Linked DNA regions of Homo sapiens: regions 2, 3, 4, 5 and 6 are each linked to region 1. The links are contacts of gene promoters, found by promoter capture Hi-C in blood cells and fetal thymus (Javierre and others, 2016). All regions are on one chromosome and are shown on one strand. Each heading gives the region's core, a stretch centred on a gene start or on the middle of the fragment in contact. The rest is flanking DNA. Distances are from core to core; before and after follow the strand shown. Region 1 holds the start of RAMP1 (receptor activity modifying protein 1). Region 2 overlaps UBE2F (ubiquitin conjugating enzyme E2 F (putative)). Region 3 holds the start of ESPNL (espin like). Region 4 overlaps SCLY (selenocysteine lyase). Region 5 overlaps UBE2F (ubiquitin conjugating enzyme E2 F (putative)). Region 6 overlaps UBE2F (ubiquitin conjugating enzyme E2 F (putative)).

What was found. The method cuts DNA at HindIII sites, captures the fragments that hold promoters and counts their contacts. A CHiCAGO score of 5 or more calls a contact.
Region 2: a fragment that was not itself captured here is called in contact with the fragment with the promoter of RAMP1 in region 1 in 3 of 17 cell types (megakaryocytes, M0 macrophages and M1 macrophages); the score reaches 6.5 in megakaryocytes.
Region 3: a contact is called between the fragment with the promoter of ESPNL here and the fragment with the promoter of RAMP1 in region 1, in 10 of 17 cell types (megakaryocytes, endothelial precursors, M0 macrophages and 7 more). The highest score is 17.1, in megakaryocytes.
Region 4: a fragment that was not itself captured here is called in contact with the fragment with the promoter of RAMP1 in region 1 in 5 of 17 cell types (megakaryocytes, endothelial precursors, erythroblasts and 2 more); the score reaches 8.6 in megakaryocytes.
Region 5: a fragment that was not itself captured here is called in contact with the fragment with the promoter of RAMP1 in region 1 in 9 of 17 cell types (megakaryocytes, M2 macrophages, M0 macrophages and 6 more); the score reaches 21.0 in megakaryocytes.
Region 6: a contact is called between a fragment that was not itself captured here and the fragment with the promoter of RAMP1 in region 1, in 4 of 17 cell types (megakaryocytes, M1 macrophages, M2 macrophages and 1 more). The highest score is 10.3, in megakaryocytes.

Annotation. Positions count from the first base shown.
Region 1 is chr2:237,858,204-237,861,056 of GRCh38, forward strand. RAMP1 (receptor activity modifying protein 1) reads left to right here and starts at 1,420. Exons shown (of 3, transcript NM_005855.4): 1 at 1,420-1,524. The coding sequence starts at 1,473. RefSeq lists enhancers at 1-20, 21-807. The HindIII fragment of the contact is 3,458 bases long and covers 1-2,853 here.
Region 2 is chr2:238,041,886-238,044,771 of GRCh38, forward strand. It overlaps UBE2F (ubiquitin conjugating enzyme E2 F (putative)), which reads left to right. Exons shown (of 10, transcript NM_080678.3): 10 at 1-897. All of the region lies in intron 7 of UBE2F-SCLY (UBE2F-SCLY readthrough (NMD candidate)), which reads left to right. Among named protein-coding and RNA genes, the nearest start is that of SCLY, 18 kb to the right of the region's middle. RefSeq lists a silencer at 823-1,015. The HindIII fragment of the contact is 6,960 bases long and covers 1-2,886 here.
Region 3 is chr2:238,098,936-238,101,982 of GRCh38, forward strand. It overlaps ESPNL (espin like), which reads left to right and starts at 1,405. Exons shown (of 9, transcript NM_194312.4): 1 at 1,405-1,778; 2 at 3,006-3,047. The coding sequence starts at 1,485. SCLY (selenocysteine lyase) reads left to right here. Exons shown (of 12, transcript NM_016510.7): 12 at 1-478. UBE2F-SCLY (UBE2F-SCLY readthrough (NMD candidate)) reads left to right here. Exons shown (of 19, transcript NR_037904.1): 19 at 1-478. The HindIII fragment of the contact is 15,429 bases long and covers 1-3,047 here.
Region 4 is chr2:238,075,489-238,078,580 of GRCh38, forward strand. All of the region lies in intron 4 of SCLY (selenocysteine lyase), which reads left to right. The region is part of intron 11 of UBE2F-SCLY (UBE2F-SCLY readthrough (NMD candidate)); the gene reads left to right. Among named protein-coding and RNA genes, the nearest start is that of SCLY, 16 kb to the left of the region's middle. The HindIII fragment of the contact is 1,622 bases long and covers 482-2,103 here.
Region 5 is chr2:238,013,291-238,016,186 of GRCh38, forward strand. All of the region lies in intron 4 of UBE2F (ubiquitin conjugating enzyme E2 F (putative)), which reads left to right. All of the region lies in intron 4 of UBE2F-SCLY (UBE2F-SCLY readthrough (NMD candidate)), which reads left to right. Among named protein-coding and RNA genes, the nearest start is that of SCLY, 46 kb to the right of the region's middle. The HindIII fragment of the contact is 4,730 bases long and covers 1-2,896 here.
Region 6 is chr2:237,991,818-237,994,542 of GRCh38, forward strand. The region is part of intron 3 of UBE2F (ubiquitin conjugating enzyme E2 F (putative)); the gene reads left to right. The region is part of intron 3 of UBE2F-SCLY (UBE2F-SCLY readthrough (NMD candidate)); the gene reads left to right. Among named protein-coding and RNA genes, the nearest start is that of UBE2F, 26 kb to the left of the region's middle. The HindIII fragment of the contact is 3,258 bases long and covers 1-2,725 here.

The DNA of each region.
Region 1 (2,853 bases), core at 170-2,669:
AATTGAAGGGCAGGGCTTGTCGATCTAACAGTGTCTTGCACATAGGGACACAAATGTCTGTTAAATGAAGAAAGTAGGGATGCCAGGCCACCCAATGGGGTGTATCTCCTAGGGTTCAAGAACAAGGGCTAATCAAGTCAAGAGAATGTGTGCCCTCCCCCACCATCTCACCCCTCACTCTCAGAACACTTGGGGCCCCTGCACAGGTGGTAGGCATGCTGGCCCTGAGTGCCCTCCCAGCCTGTGTTAGAAGAACCAGTGGATGACCTCGCTGTCAGCTGTCTCCCCTTCTCTGAGCTTACTGCAGGTGGCAGCAGCCTCTCAGCCACAGACTGTTCCCTTTCCTAGGAGAAAACGATGGTCACTCAGCAATGCTGTGCGCTTGCAGCTTCCACCACAAAAGAGACAGCTGTGGCCGCAGCACCAGGGTGGTGATTCTTCCCCCTCCAAGGGCAGTGGTGCATTCCTTAGCACAAGTATAAATTTACTGTTGCTAAGAGTTCTCGGAACAGGATAATACAAGAAGGAACCACTGCAAGTGAAATCCAGCCACCAGTAATGCCGAGAGGCCAGGCCTGTGCCTCCCAAAACCTGCTCCTCCGCAGGCTTCCCCGGCCCATCTCCAGAGCGCCCTCCTCTCACCACTTTACATAAACGAATGTACCCAAGATCCCCCATCAGTTTTCCATGCAGCTGCCAGAGTGCCACCAAAGCAAACCTCATCTCAAGACTCTGTGGCCAGGCCCTCACAACCTCCTGCCAGGCTCTCGCTACCTACCCATCAACAGCAAGACTCCCAGGCCATCTCAATCCCCCCAAAGAGCCCTGTTCCTCCAGCCCCACGGCTTCTGTTCACCTGCCGTGCTGTCCCCGCCTCTGCCCACCCACTCATCCTGCAGATCTGGAGCAGCATTCCAGGGCCTGGTAAGTGTGCGCCATTTTGGGTTACTACGGGTCTCGCCAGGCGCGGTGGCGAGTTTTGCCCCCCACGCTCCCCAGCGCCTGCACCTGGGCGGAGAGGTAGATAAGGCTGGGAGATCTTAGCCTTTTGCAAGGCAAACACCAGGCAGGAACGCCCAGAACCTCGGAGGAGGAGGAGGGGAAGATCCCCAGGTGGAGACCAAGGTGCCCCTCACGCTGAGTCGTCTAGGAGACCCTCCCTAGTTTAAAAAGTGTTTATTTGCTCGGAGAACATTTCAGGAGGCCTTCCTGGGACCCCAAGTGTGCCGCCCCCCGGGAGGGGCCTGGAGACGCCCGCGCGGCCCCCCTGCAAAGTTTTACCGGCCCTGGGCGCCCCCGGCCCTGGCACCCACGCGGGGAGCCGCAGTGGGCCGGGCCGCGCGGCCGCCGCCTCCCACCGCTCCCGCGCCCGCTCCCGCCCCCGGCGCGTCTCCTCCGGGCCCGCGCCGCGGCGGGCTCAGTCCTCAGCGGGGCGCGTGGCGAGCGGACTCGACTCGGCACCGCTGTGCACCATGGCCCGGGCCCTGTGCCGCCTCCCGCGGCGCGGCCTCTGGCTGCTCCTGGGTGAGTAGGTCCAGGGGTCCCGGCCGAGCTCCCTTCCCCTGGCCAGCCGGTGTCCTCTAGGGGAGAGGAGGGGAGCGGGTGGGAGCGGGTGGGAGCGGGTGGGGGCGGGCGCCGCGGGCGCACAGATCCGCTGCCCTTGAACGCGGGCCGCCCCGGTTCCAGGCGGGAGGCCCCAGGGCACAGGGGAGGCGGAGGGCGCGGACCGGTGTTGCGCTTCTCGCCGGGGAAGGGACGGCTTTGGGGACGTCGGAGAGCGGGCATTCTGGAAAGCGTGGGGTGAGTCAGCCCTGCACACTGGAGAACTAGTTTTCAGAAGGAAAAACAGGACGCGGGGTTCCCCAGCCCCGCACCTCGTTTCTCAGGCTGTGCGCCGCGGTGACTGCCAGCGCAGGCTCCCTTCCCTAGGCCGTCCCGCGTTGCAAAACCTGCAGACGGGCACCTTGCAGAAGACGCAGTGTTCGGGAATCAGAACCACAGCCGGTTTGTATGGAAATTAGTCAACACTGACAATCTGTCGCCTGCAGCAGTTGCTTGTTTGCAAATCACGTCTTTTGCAGAAATGAGGCCAGCCCTTTTCGGGACACTTCCATCGCTTTTTTTCTTTTTTCTTTTGGTTTGCTTGTTAACTTGGCACTTTTGGCTAATAGAAATTTAAAGAAGGACGGGTCCCTTGGTGAAGTGGTGGAACACGTTTGGCTTTCCACTTGGAGGGAGAAGTGGAGATTAGCGGCAGCCTCATGGCCACAGGAACTGGCCACACACTCGGCAAGAAACGGTGCTGTTCACTTCCCTTGTCTGTAATGTGTTCCTAAAATGCTAACTCAAGCCCCTTCTAAACCGCTTTGGCTATTGCATTATTCCGTGTATTTAGCTACCTTTTAACGGAAACTGTGAATAGGTTACTGGCGTGGGAGAACCCAGTGTCCCTGGGAAGGCCGGAGCAGTTGTTTCTGGTATGTGTGGCCTTTCCCCGGAAACAGTGATGTTGGTCAGAGGCACCTGCCGCACAAGACCTCTTTGGCGCTGGCACTGGGCAAGCAGGGACCACCGGCGCTGTTGTAGCTGGGGGAGTGGTTCGTGGCCCAGCGAGGAGAGGGGCCAGGGCTTCTTGGGAGCCATGGATTTCTGTTCCCTATTTGTAAACCTCTCCAAGGGGTGGCAGATCTGCATAGAATCCTCAGAGGCCGATATAATATAATCTGAAAGCGGATCTTGCCACTTTAGAGTTTTGGCTGAAGTTACGTGGAAAGCAGAATCTCGCAGTAATTTTATTCTCTCCATTTGGCTTGACATGGCCTTCACTGTTTTCATTTACTAAGAAACAAACAT
Region 2 (2,886 bases), core at 231-2,730, 180 kb after region 1:
TTTTATTTAATGTAAGTATATTTTGGAACAGATTTGTAATTTGTACAATTCAATGCTTTAATTATTTTTTCTATTCTCATTTAGTTTGTATTTTCATTGTATAGAGCAGACAGAAAGATGTTGGGTCAAGCAACTATTGAAGAGAAATACAAAGAAAATATGAAAGGCACATTATTCATTTTGTCCAAATGCAATGAGAATCTCACTCTTAAAAATCAGCTCTTGCTTTCGGGTCCGGATGTGGTGAGCACATTTTGGAGCCCTTTGAAGCTAGATTTGGATGATCAAAACAAAAAGGCAGGGAGCCCATTCTAACATGCTGCCCAGAGGAAACTGGCTGGAGCCTGGACCAGCTGGGGTTGATGCTTTTGCAGTGGTCATGTGATTGTGACCTGGTAGCTACTTATCAGAGAGCCAGACCCTGCTGTCCTGGGAGACAGGAGCGATGCCTCAGGAATCAGCCCAATGTCTGATGTCACTGAGACTGTACCTGTGGCCTTCTTCTGAGTTTGCTATGGCTCCAGGCCCTGCCGGTGGGGTGAGCCTCCTAGGCCTTGGAGGACCAGGAGTCAACAGTGGCATATGCCATCCTCGGCCAGGTTAATATACTGCAGAGGAAAAGCCCTGAAGAGAGGCAAGTGGATTTACTCCAGCATGTAGACATTTGAACCAGTGAAATCAAACACAAAATAAATGTCTGTCTAGTTTCATTTGCTGCCTGCCTAACACTCTCAAACTTAACTGCCAGCTTCCTTAGACCTCTGGATTCCCCCATCTGCCATCTACTGGGTTTAGTTTGTTTTTCTTAATTTATAGAATCTCTGATTGTGAGATCAGTCTGTCACGGAGACCCAGCAGGTGAGGAATGTAGGCCTTGCTTCCTCTTTGCACCCATTAGACTTGAGGGTGGCCCCTGGCTAACAGGCCACACAGAGCAGGAAGGGTGAGATTGGTTAAAGAGAATGATGGCATCTCAGGAGCTCAGGGCTTGTCCAGGAGACACATTAATCCCCACCTCTCAGGGCCTGGGAGAGGGAGGTACTGCAGCTTCACACTTTTCCTCTGCCTAGTGTCAGAGGAACTTGCCAGCTGAGCACTAGGCTTCCTCTCTAGGCAGGGCAGGAGGCCAGCAGCTAATTCCTGCCCCCTCTGACCCAGGAAATGAGGTTCTCTGCTTGGTGCCAGTCCCAGGCCCAAGTCAGGGCACATCCCATAGTAGTTGTTCGGGCTCCCTGGAGTTCCCCAGCTGGTGGTGCAGGTGTTGATGCAGGACTTTTCAGAAGAGCGCTTCTGTGGGAGAAACGCCTGCTGTCCAGTGGAAACGTTTATGCAGTGTACATGAAAGACAGTGTGCCCTCTGGACCACACTGAAAGTGGTAATATCAGTTATTCTGACATCAAAGTATCTGCACAGTAGAAAAACACTTTGCTCATTATCAGGGATTAAGCAATTCTTTCAAAATGTCCAGATAACTGAATCATCCCATTCTGTCTAGTGGAAATCCCCCAGAGATATGTTGCGCACACACACCCCATCTTAGGAGCACACTCAGATGCAGCCCATCGCAGTAAGCAGCAGCTGTTGTCCTGGGTGCTTGGCCAGTGGGGCCCTTGGGATCTGTTGGGTGACTGTGGGACCCAGTTTCCTTCCAGACTTTTTGAATTCTTAGCATTCCCCTCCCTCTTTCACAGGCCAAAGTCACATTTCTGGCTCCAGCGCATGTGCCCCCAACCAACCGGGTACTAGTTGGTGATTTCTGATCTGTCAGGGAATGGGAATCCCTATACTCGGCCAAAAGGCCAGTCCTGGAAATAGGTGAGAGTGGGCAGGCCCTTGGGGAAGTGAAGCTCTTGGGAAGCTCTGACATCCAGTTGGACATCCAGAACCTTTGCTTCCTGAATCCTGGTTCTTGGCTGGACTCCAGAGGGTCCTTATGACTATTGCTTAGAATTTGATGCATAAGCTGTATGTTTTTCAAGCACTCCTAGAAGGAAACACTTCCAGGGTAAGCCTCTCAGAGGAAGGCTCACATCTTACCTCTGATCTTCCCCTAAATAATCACCAGCAGGTGACCATCTCTTTGCAGCCTTTCTACTAAGGAGCCAAGGCAAGAGTATTACTCAGATATTGAAAATGGATCTCAGCTGTGCCCCTCGCCTTTTCTCCCACGACTCGTCATCTGTGATGTTTCCACCAGCTTTATTTGCAGAGCACAGACCACAGGGAGCCAGTGTCTTGGGTTAGGGTTGTCTTCACCTGCCCTCGTCTCCAGGCACGAGAGGCCTGAGAGGCTGCTCAGGAGCTAAAACATTGTGAATGTCCATTCTTGTAAAGGATCAGGTACCTTAGTATTCGGCAGTTTACATGATTCAAAGCACCTGTGCATGTTTTCCTCTTTCTCTAGTTACTTGCACACTTGTCTGGAAAGACCTTGTGGGGTGTAGAACACAACAGTGTTCATAGCTAGGCCAGTCTCAGCAGTGTCCTAGCCCATTCAGAGGCCATCTGGTGATAGACCCAGCATGTTTTTTTCTTATGGCAGCAGAAAGATTGAATAGCCTTTCTGCTGGATTCTAGACCCCCAAAAAAGAAAAATAAAATCCCAGTGGGCAAACTCCCAGGCGGTGGTGATCACTAAAATCTGTCACAGTCTTCAGTGAACAAACCCCACTTGCTGTTCCTGGGGTTGCTCTGCTGCCACTCCCCATCCCCGCTTATTTAAAGAACTGCTGTGAAAAATCAGTTCCAGTTTCTTCTGTAAAACCCACGGCACTACTGGTGCATTCTGAGTTACACTTGTTAAGTAGAACCTTCTTATTCCCTAAGAGATTTTCAAAATAAGTCACTTATTCCTGTTAACATCGCCCTTTTTGTCAATAATCAAA
Region 3 (3,047 bases), core at 155-2,654, 240 kb after region 1:
CTCCTCTGGCCTCAGTGCACAGTGGCCCCCAGCCTCGGCCAGGCCTGCTCTGCTCAGCGCCCACCGCCCACCACCCCTCCTGCTTCCCCGAGCCTGACCCTGTTCCGCCCACTGGCAATCAGGGCTGCGCACTTCCCTGTCCACGGTCCCCAGGCCTTCCTGTCTTGTCCCTTTTGATCATTATTAACTCAGGGTTTCAGCTCCAACCTCGCTGAGTTGGTGCAGCTCCAGGTCATTCCTGGGGTGGGAATCGGATCATCCCTGACTCAGCTTTTACCTTAATTTTATTTGCAGAGGATTCTTTTCTCAAAATGCTCTGGCATTTGGACACACATCACATGTCGATATTTGCATAGGAGTCATTTTCAGTGGAATAACATTTTTAATGTGTGGTTTTACGGTTCAAGGAACTACTTGATGATTTTGAGGAAACACTTGCCAGAAACTAAATTAACGAATAAAAGATTTCAGTGCCCGACTTGGGGATCCTGTGGTTTCTCTAGTGGGCACTGCGCTTGGGCACAAAGTCATCTGACAGAGCCTGTCGGGGGGAAGCCAGGGGTGCAGCAGCCCCCAGGTCACCATTGTGTGATGATGCGTTAGCCCAGAAATCCAGCTTGAGGCTGTGTCTCCGGAAGCCCCTACAAATGTAATGGGTCCCCCATCTGCAGCTTCCCATTGCTGCCAGGAAGAGGCTGTGGTGGTCCTGACTTCCCTAAAGAAGAACTATGGATTGTCCAGAACAATCTGGAAAGGGGTTAAATGTACTTGGGCCCTTGGGGCTGCAGCCCAGAGACTTGGTCCGTGTAGTTGGAGAGGGGGCCGAGGCAGGGGCTGACACCTTCTCGCCTCAGAGGCCTGGACACACCCAAGTCAGGGTCCTGAGCCCATTGCAGGCCCCGTGGAGCCACTGTGTCCCCAGAGATTCCTAGGAGCCTCCAGGGCCGAGGGCCGGGACCCAGAGGCGGGGCGCTCAGCTCTGTGGGTGTCAACACAGCCAAACATGTAGACCTACTGGGCACCCTTTACTTCAGACACACTGTGGTGGCGGCTGGGGGTCTGCCCTTCTGTGAGAGTTGGGGGAACTGTCTCCCAGGCCACTCGGGGCTCCTGTGAGAAGCTCAGTGGCGTGTATCCTCAGCCCTCGCTCCACAGATGAAGTTCCTGCCATCTGGACAGATCTGAGCAGCCTCAGGGCCAGCCTCCTTTCTCTGCTGGCCATACCCAGCCCTGACCTAGCCTGGTGTGGGCCTTTCCCTGTGCCCTGTACTCCATCCTCCCAGCTCCAGGCACCTGGCACCCTCACACTGTGGGAGTGGCTTGGGCAGGTCCTCAAGGCCTGTCCCCCCACCCGACCCCACCCCACCGCCTCCCATCTGCCCTGTGGCAGCTTATCGGGTAACCAGAGCCGGCAGCTTCATCCACGTCTGAAACAGGAAGCCCCAGCCTGTGCATGAGTCGCCACTGAGAGCCCGGGCCAGAGGATGGAGAAGCAGCGGGCACTCGTGGCCGCCAAGGATGGGGATGTGGCGACGTTGGAGCGGCTGCTGGAGGCTGGCGCCCTGGGCCCGGGCATCACCGATGCTCTGGGGGCCGGCCTGGTTCACCACGCCACCCGGGCTGGCCACCTGGACTGCGTCAAGTTCTTGGTGCAGCGGGCCCAGCTGCCCGGCAACCAGCGGGCCCACAACGGGGCCACCCCAGCGCATGACGCCGCTGCCACGGGCAGCCTGGCCGAGCTGTGCTGGCTGGTCCGCGAGGGGGGCTGCGGTCTGCAGGTGAGCGGGGATGGGGCAGCCTGGCTCCACGAAGCTGGCTGGGGTGGAACCAGGGAGGTGTGAGCCACGGAGGATCAGAGTACTGGCCACCCCGGGCTCCATGGCCCTGGGCCCTTTGTTTCTCTTGGGGACTCAGTCAGTGGTTACCGTCTCTGCCCCACGCCTCTCAGAGCACAAAGGCTTGAGAGCCAAGAACACCTCCTAAATTTTCTTATCACCTTCCCTGCCAGGAAGCTGGGCGTTGCCAGTGGGGGTCTTGCCAGATATCAGGACCCCTGTCTCTGATCAGGCCTGGTCCACAGGGCCTGCCTCCCAAAGGGTCTAGAAAGGGATCCTTACAGAAGCACTGTGGGAACTTGGGCTTGAGAGCTGGGAGCCTAGCCCTGGGGGACGGGAGTTAGGGCTGCTGATGGTGATCGTCTTGTCCGGATCGTTTCTACTGGGCCCCCCTCCCCTATCCTGCCTGCCCAGTCCCCTTTGTGCAGGCGAGGCCCTTAGAGCTGTCGCTCAGCCCTGTGGAGCTTTCAGGGCTGAGGGTGAGCAGGACTGACCGGCCTTAGAACGCCGCCGCCCAGAGGTCAGAGTTGAGGTGGGGGCCGGTGGGGCCTGCTTAGACTGCGGAGCGGGAAGGTTCCCCAGCACCTGGCTCGCCAGAGCACCTGAGAGTCCCGGCCCAGCATCCTGTTCCTGTCGGCCCTTCCGCCAAACCCAAGGGCAGCAGGCGGGAGCTGTGCCTGCCTGGGGATCCATTCTGACAGGGCCCTTGGAGAAGGCCCAGGTCTGCTGGACCCCTGACACCTGTGGTAGGAACGCTCCCTGGCCCCGGGACCCTGTGGCCAGCGGGAGGGCACTGGGGCAGGGGACCAGCCAGAGGTAGGTGTCCTGGGAAGCCTTTCTGACCATGAGCAGAGTGGGCAGGTGTCTGCGGGCACCCGACTGCGTGGGAAAGGGCCTTCTCCACACTGGGGACGGGCCCAGGAGAGGGCAGGGTTGCCAGAGGTGGCCTCCCAAGACCTGGACCTGAGTCCTGGCCCTCCTCTCACCTCAGTCCCAGCAGGGAGCACCTCCCTCCATGTTGCAGGCAGAAACGGAGGGAAGGAGGAAGGAGCTGGAAGCCCCTTCACTGGGTTGCAGGCAGTGTGAGCCCTCGCCCAGGGCCCACCTCCGGCAGCTGGCTCTGACCTCACGGCCTACCCCCCACTCACTGACCTACCCGGGGCTTGGTAGGACCAAGATGCCTCGGGCGTCTCCCCGCTGCACCTGGCCGCC
Region 4 (3,092 bases), core at 43-2,542, 220 kb after region 1:
TGACAACATCTGGGCCTGGGCTTCTCTTTGTGGAGAATTTTTAAGTTACTGATTCAGTCTCTTTACTTTTTATAGGTTTGTTCAGGCTCTATCTCTTTTGAGTCATTTTCAGTTGTTTGTGTCCTTCTAGGAATTTGTGCATTTCATTTGTTATCTAATTTTATTGGCATACCATTGTTTATAGTAGTCTCTGGTAATCTTTTTTTATTTCTGTAAGATTTATAGATCCCTTTCATTCATGATTTTAGTAATTTTATTCTTTTTCTCTGTCTTGTTCAATTTAGCTAAAGATTTATCTTTTTAAAAACTCTTTTTAAAGAACTAACTTTTGATTTTCCTGTGTTATTTTTGTAGTCTCTATTTTATTGACTTCTACACTAACCTTTATTAACCCATTTATGCCGGAGGTTGCAAGTTTTTTTGTGTGAAAAATCAGACCTTGGCAATAACCTTGAGCAGTAGGATATAAATAACTCCCACAAGCTTAGCGTTCCAATAATGGAACACCAGGCATAAATGGGTTCTTTCTTTCTACTTGTTTTAGGTTTGATTTGTTCCTTTTTTTTTTTTTTTTTACAGTGTCTTAAGGTGGAAGATTAGTTATGATTTGTATTTTTTTTTTTTTTGAGACAGAGTCTTATTGCCCAGGCTGAAGTACGGTGACACAATCTCAGCTTACTGCAACCTCCACCTCCCAGATTTTAGCAGTTCTTGTGCCTCAACCTCCCAAGTAACTGGGATTACAGACATGCACCACCACATCTGGCTAATTTTTGTACTTTTAATAGAGACGGGGTTTTGCCATGTTGGCTGGGCTTGTCTCGAACTCCTGAACTCAAGTGACCCACCCACCTTGGCCTCCAAAAGTGCTGGGATTACAGGTGTGAGCCACCACACCCAGACGTTTTTTCTTTTTTAATGTAGGCATTTAAAGACATAAATTTCCCTCTAAGCACTGCTTTAACTACATTCCACATGTTTTAGTATGTTGTGTCTTCATTTTCATTCATCTCAAAGTATTTTCTAGTCTCCCTTGTGGTTTTTTTTTTCTATGACCCATTAGATATTTAAGAGTGTATTGTTCTGCGGAAGGCCGCAGGGTCCTCTGCCTAGGAAAACCAGAGACCTTTGTTCACTTGTTTATCTGCTGACCTTCCCTCCACTATTGTCCCATGACCCTGCCAAATCCCCCTCGGTGAGAAACACCCAAGAATTATCAATAAAAAAATAAATTAAAAAAAAAAAAAAAAGAGTGTATTGTTTAATTTCCATATGTTTTTTAATTTCTAAGATTTCTTTCTGCTAATGATTTCTAATTTTCTTCCATAAGAGCTAGAAAATACTTTGATTTAAATTCTTTAATTTTTTTTATTTTGTGGCCTAGGATGTATGTAGACATATATCCTAGAGTATATGTCAAGTGCACTGGAGGATAATGTATATTCTGCTGTTGTTGGGTGGAGTGTCTTGTAGATGTCTGTTAGGTCTACTTAATTTGTAGTGTTATTCAAGTCTTCTGTTCCCTTGTTAAAATTCTGCCTAGTTGTTGTATCCATTATTGAAAATGTGATTTTGAATGATCCCAGTATTATTAATCAGTGGTCTGATTAATAGTTGATCACACTATTAATCAGTTTCTCCCTTCAAACCTGTCAGTTTTTGCTTCGTGTATTTTGGTGCTCTATTGTTAGGTGCACATACATTTATATTTGTTATATATTATGGATGAACTGGTTCTTTTATCATTATAAAATGTCCAACTATATTGCTGGTAACTTTTTAAATCCCTTTTATTTTATGTAAGTATAGTCATTCCAACTGTCTTATGGTTGCTGCTAGCATAAATATCTTTTTCCATCCTTTTACTTTTAATCCATTTATGTCTTTAAATCTGACATGTTGTAATACACTGTTAGAGACATATTGTGGCTATAAGATTAATGATAGCCGTAAGGCCCATGCAAACATCTTGCAGGGCTGACACTATGTGTCAATTAGCAGTATGATGCAACATGGTCTAGGGATTTCCAACCCTGGCTTGGGAATTTCCAGGAGGTAAGACCACCTCAGCATAGATGGAACTCTCATAAACCATAAATACAAAGCTTTCCCTTACCAAAATAGCTTAACTCCCTTATGGAAGAAAAACCTGGTAACTGACCTGGACTAAATACAAGATAAGAAAGGGGAAGAATCCCCAAAACTCTGAGAATGTTCTCTGGACAGAGACTTTCCCGGCCAGGCAGTCATCTGATACCTGAATGTATCTGACCCTTGCCACCTGCCTGCTCCTGCTAGCTATCTTGTAAGAGCACTGCCAGAATAAACTGCTTGAACATCACACAGCATCTAAGACTTATCTTTGATGTGAATAATAGGAAAAGGGAAAAGTCACCTTTGGGGAAGGTTAACTAGGCCCAGCCCAAGATCCCTGAACAAGACACATGGGTCTCCTGTAGATTCTCTTTTTTTTTTTTTTTTTAGACGGAATCTCGCTCTGTTGCCCAGGCTATGGAGTGCAGTGGCACGATCTTGGCTCACTGCCACCTACGCCTCCCAGGTTCAAGCTATTCTCCTGCCTCAGCCTCCCGAGTAGCTGGTACTACAGGCACCTGCCACCATGGCTGGCTAATTTTTGTATTTTTAGTAGAGACGGGGTTTCACCATGTTGGCCAGGCTGACCTTGAACTCCTGATCTCAGGTGATCCATCTACCTTGGCCTCCCAAAGTGCTAGGATTACAGGCTTGAGCCACTGCACCCGGCCAGTTCTTTTTAAATCTAGTCTGACAGCCTCTGCCTTTTTATTAGATTGTTTAATCATTCACACTTAATGTTACTATTGACATAGTTGGAGTACCACCTATTTTCACTTTTTGTTTCCTAGATGTCTCATATATTTTTTGTTCTCTTTTCCCCCTTTACCGTTTTCTTTTGCATTAACGAATATTTTCTAATTTAACATCAAAATTCTTTAGTGCTTTTTTCACTTTTTAAATTAGTTATTTCCTTAGTGGTTGTCAAGGGCTTACTATTTATGTATAAACTTACCAGTATATACTTCAAATTTATACTAATTTAATTCCAGTAAGAT
Region 5 (2,896 bases), core at 389-2,888, 160 kb after region 1:
AGAAATGGTTATAGATAGGGAAAAGCGAATGGAGACACAGTGGTGGGGGAAAAAGCAAATATAGGGAAAAGCACAACCCTACCTTAATGTGTCGCTTTGAGGTGGCTTTACCCTTATCAGTGCGTCACGGGTACTTTTGTCCCCTGGGAATGTCCACTCCTTGAGACAGTTCATTCTAGTACAGGGGGAGATGGGAGGTAGGCCTTTTTTTGCAGGGGGGAAGAAGGTTGTAGAAGAGGAGGTGGGACAGAGAGCTGGCATGACTCCTTGGCCTCAAGGGCGTTGTCCACAGATTTGTTACCAGACAGAGCATATGTGGATGTCGGCCATCTAGAATCTAGAAATGGATTCTGTCACAGTGATTTGAGGCGACATACCCCTTCAAAAGGTTTGTTTTCCCAGGGCTCTCGGTAATCTTGAAGACACTGGAGTATGGTTCCTCAAAGGTAGTGAGGAGTGGGCTCTAAAGCACAAGGAAAGAGGAGGATAATTCCTCTAATTGTAACAGTGGGGCAGGGGCCAGGCTGGCTGATTGAGAGCTGAGTGCCAGGAACTTCCCTCAGTTGCATTTCATTATTGTATTTTAAAACCTAGTTGTCTGAGAAATGTGTTTTCAGTCCCAGCAGCCATGGACGATAGTAACATAGAATTGGCCTGTCCTGGACTTGTGTACTGTGCTGTGGGCCACGGTGCACGTGTAGTTACAGACATTCTCAATGAGTCCACTACCTGCCGGCTGTGGAAGTGAGCAGGCCTTCCTTGAACCGTCTCCGCCTTGGGCCAGGTACTCCCAGAGCCAGGTGTAGAAGGTGAATCTGAACTCTTAAGCTGGGGACATCGTGAAGGAAACCTTGTAAATAAGAGATGCTCTTGGGTTTCATCTCAGTCCAGTCTGCTCCCAAGCTGCTTTTTAAGTTGGACTGTGGAATTTCTGGGCAAATTAACAATAATAAATAAGCAGATTTGGATCAGGTCTAAAAACTGTGCAACTTCAAAGAGGGAAAAAGAAGTACTGATGCAGGAGCAGATCATTTTCCTGAGAGAGATTTGTTTCATGAAAGAGAAAAAAATAAAACAGTCTGTTCTCACTTTTTAATGAGTTAAGAGAAGATATAATCCTAATAATTATTAAGGAAGAACTTGACTGGAGCAGAGGGAATAAGGTGAAGTGATAATCATATTAGACCAAATAACATCTTTGAAAGTGGTAGGCAATAGAGTTGAAACTCTGTAATCCATGAACTGGAAAGCCAACTAGAGAAAAAATATAGCATGGCAGGATGGAATGGCCAGAGCACAGCCACGACCAGGGTGTCTCGCATGGGTAGTAATCATTCCTAAGGGAAAGGAAAAGGACAGCGCGGGTGAAGCAGCATCATCCAAAAGCTGTGTAACAGTTCACAGAGTGGACTGCGTGGTTTGTAATGTTAAGCCTGGCATTGGATTTCTGTGTTGTGCCACAGTGGTCAATATCACAATACATGTAAGACACCAACATCCACACATGCTTTGATGAACAAGGATATGTACTCTGAGTATTTTATATCTAAGATGCCACTTATTTGAAAAGTTCTTATATCTGGAGTTAAAAATTTCCCCAAACAAGTATCTTTGCCAGAGACTTTATACTGCCAGTCAGAAATCCAAGTGTATTTATAAAAACTAGAAATACGCATCTCAAGTAAGTGGAGGAAGGCTAGAATAATAAACGCCGTTGGGGTGATTAAGCAACCAGTTAGGAAAAAAAATACGACCTTAGTCTGCAATCAGTTGATGAATGAATGAGCTGATTAAATGTAATCTATGAAACCATTAAATTACTAGAAGAAAATATAAGAGGATATTGATATAATCTTGGTTGGGAAAGGCCTTTTCTAAGCATGACCCCAAAGACAGAAACCCTAAAGAAAGATTAGCTTCTTAAAAATGGAAAACTAGTGTTCAGAAACCACAAAATCAAAATGCAAACAGCAGACTAAGAAAAATTGCTTGTAGCCTATTTAAAAAGCAAAGGCTAATTAAGAGATTTTTGTATTGGTAATTAAAAGATGAATACCTCAGTAATAAAAGGAGAGTTTCAGAACATTGATCATTCAGTTCTTAAAAGAAAAACCTAAATGACCAATAATCATATAAATTTTAGCCTCACTAGTATTCATCAGAGAATGTAAAATAAAAGAGAACTGGTATTTCTCTTCTATCAAATTGGCAAAGAAAAAAAATGTTAGGGTCCAGGTAATGCCAGTTTTAACTACTAGATGACATAAATGTTGATACGGTCTCAACTCTTAAGGAATGGAATTTTTTTTTAATGATGACTTGTTTGAGGCTAACAACTTGCTGTTATGCATTCATTTCATATAAAAATTTGAGGAAAATGATAAGATTTAATATTACTGGTTTGTTCATGATGATAAATATTTTAGGGGAAGTTGAATTTTAATTTTAAAATGGTGCTAATTCTGTCAAATTTGAAAATTGAGAATAATTTATTTCCAGTGGCTTTTCCAAGCTCATTCATGCTGAAGTGCCCTCTGCTGGCACCAGCAGCCACTTAGTGACCCCAGGCTGGGTACCACCTGAGGAGAGGGACTGCCCTGTGGGGTCTACAGGGTGTGGGGGGCGGGGTAAAGAGGGAGTGGGGGTACACAGCATGTGGATGGCAATGTGGTGATGCTCAGACCCTGGGCTTCCTCCTTCGTGCCTACCAGCCCGCGTTTCTAGAAGGCCTGCTCTGTTCTGAAGGCTGCATCAAGCAATCACTGAGGCAGTGATTCTGTCAGGTTCACTGCTGTGTCCCCAAGGCCTAGAACCATGCCCAGCAGAGGTTGGGTGCTCAGTAAGGGTTTGTTGGTGACTGTTAGTCTTGTGTCCTCCAATTGACATTCTCTTGGGG
Region 6 (2,725 bases), core at 81-2,580, 130 kb after region 1:
AGCCGCTGCGCCTGGCATAGTTTTATTGCTTTGTAATCCACTTTGATAATTTCTTTTTTTTTTTTTGAGACAGAGTCACGTTCTTTCACCCAGGCTGAAGTGAAGTGGCACGATCTCAGCTCTCTGCAACCTCTGCCCCCGGGTTCAAGCAGTTCTCCTGCCTCAGCCTCCCCCTCAGCTGGGATTACAGGCATGCGCCATTACATCCGGCTAATTTTTTGTATTTTTAGTAGAGAGGGGGTTTTACCATGTTGGCCAGGCTAGTCTTGAACTCCTAACCTCTGGTGATCCACCTGCCTTGGCCTCCCAAAGTGCTAGGATTACAGGCATGAGCCACTGCGACCGGCCGATAATTTCTTTATTCTTGATGGGCCAGCTTTTTGGAGCTATTGATTTCCGCATCTGTCTATTAAAACAAAAGAGAATGCCAGATATTAAAAACAAATACATGATGCCAACTTCAGTGAATCATTGAAACATTTCCCAAGTCAGAATTATATGTTTTTGTTACTTAGAACTCACTAGAAGGATGGCATTTATCTTTGCAAGTTAAGATTAGGAAGAATAAAGCCCATTTTAAGTATTTCACACATAGTTCTAAATGTGTAATTTTGGGGAAAGTCTTGAACTCTTTGGCTCCAGTTTGTTTATTTCTCAAGTAAGGACTGTGACATTGTCATCTCTAAGACTGCTTCTTGCTTTTCTAGACAGTTTTCACTCTGGAAAGGAAACCCCACTATCAGTCCTGTGTTATTTGCTGCTTGTATATACAGGTGTCCCATGTCTTAACATGGTCATTAAGTACTGAAAGGAAATGAGGCATGAGGTAGGGGAAGGAGTCATGAACTAGTTATTAATGTAGGAATTAACCTTGCTTCTGTTGATAACCTGTATGATCTTGGGCTAGTCACCAAGCCTCTCTAGACCTTCTACTTATGTCTCCTAATTGAGGACGTTGGACTAGATCGTCTCTAAGGTCACCTCTGAGTAGAAATTTGAATTGTCCTGTTTTCGATAAAAATTTTTATCATTGTCAAACTAAGCAAATACTTTTGGTGGAACTTGTAAGAAAACTTTAAACAAATTTTTAAAAAGTCTTCTAAAAAAACTTTAAAAACTTAAAAAGACAAAATATCATAGTAAATTCTGGGTGGGAGCTAACTCCTGGGCAGCACTCTTTTTTTTTTTCAGATGGAGTCTCGCTTTGTTGCCCAGGCTGGAGGGCAGTGGCGTGATCTCAGCTCACTGCAACCTCTGCCTCCCAGGTTCAGGCAATTCTCCTGCCTCAGCCTCCCAAGTAGCTGGGACTACAGGCGCCCGCCACCTTGCCCAGCTAATTTTTGTATTTTTAGTAGAGACGGGGTTTCACCACGTTGGCCAGGCTGGTCTCAAACTACTGACCTCGTGAACCGCCTGCCTTGGCCTCCCAAAGTTCTGGGATTACAGACATGATCCACCATGCCTGGCCAGCACTCTTCTTTTTAACTTCCATTTGCCGTGGTGACTGTGGATGTCTGTGGTGCTAAGAGAACAGAGTAGAAATTTGACCTGGGTTTTTCCTGGTTTTTCCATGTTTAGTTCACCACCAGTGGTGAACTGAGAAGTTTAGCATAGGCCTGGTGTGGTGGCCCATGCCTGTAATCCTAGCACTTTCAGAGGCCAAGGTGAGTGGATCACTTGAGCATGGGAGTTCAAGACTAGCCTGGGTAACATGGCGAAAACCTGTCTCTACAAAAGATACAAAAATTAGCCAGGTGTGGTGGTGTGCACCTGTAGTCCCTGCTACTCAGGAGGCTGAGGTGGGAGGATCACCTGAGCCTTGGAGGCAGAGGTTGCGGTGAGCTGGAATCATGCCACTGTCCTCCAGTCCAGGCAACAGAGTGAGACCCTGTCTAAAAAAAAGTTTAGCATAGTATTTTCTGATTTTATAGATGTAGAAAATTTCTATATATATTCCTTCCAGATTCCTTGGGTATTTTTCCTATGGGTAATTAGCTGTGTGTCATTTGTTTGAAGGAGATGGGTGGGATGCAATCAACTTCCCTGGCCTGCACCAGCAGCCAGTAGCTTCTCTCCCAGGGGAACACTTTGTCCTGATTCAGGCCTCTTATGATTTGGACCAGTGGGCACAGAACATTGCCATCTGGGTCAGTAGAGCATTATTTTACCAATAAAGCAAGCTGATTTACCACTTAGGTAGTAAAGGTATTTTTTAAAAAGACAAAAGATTATGGTAAACTCTGGCTGGGTGGGAGCTAAGTCCTGGGCGCACTCTTCTTCTTCTTCTTCTTCTTTTTTTTTTTTTTTTTTGAGGCAGAGTTTCACTCTTGTTGCCCAAGCTGGAGTGCAATGGCGCGATCTTGGCTCACTGCAACCTCCATCTCCTGGGTTCAAGTGATTCTCCTGCCTCAGCCTCCCAAGTAGCTGGGATTACAGGCGTAAGCCACCATGCCTGGCCAGCACCCTTCTTTATAAAGAACTTCCATTTACCATGGTGACTGAATGTCTGTGGTGCTAGGGCAACAGAGTTGACCTGGGCTCTTTCCTGGTTTTTTCGTGTTTAGTTAGCCTTTGCCTGCATGTATTAATCTCCCTGAGATATGGTTTCTTCTTGTCAAAGTACAGTAGCATAATTCTTGAAATAAATGGTTTAGTGACCACTTAAAGGTTGAAGGAAAACATCTCTATTTGGAATTAACTAGTAAAACACTGTAAGGAGAAAAGC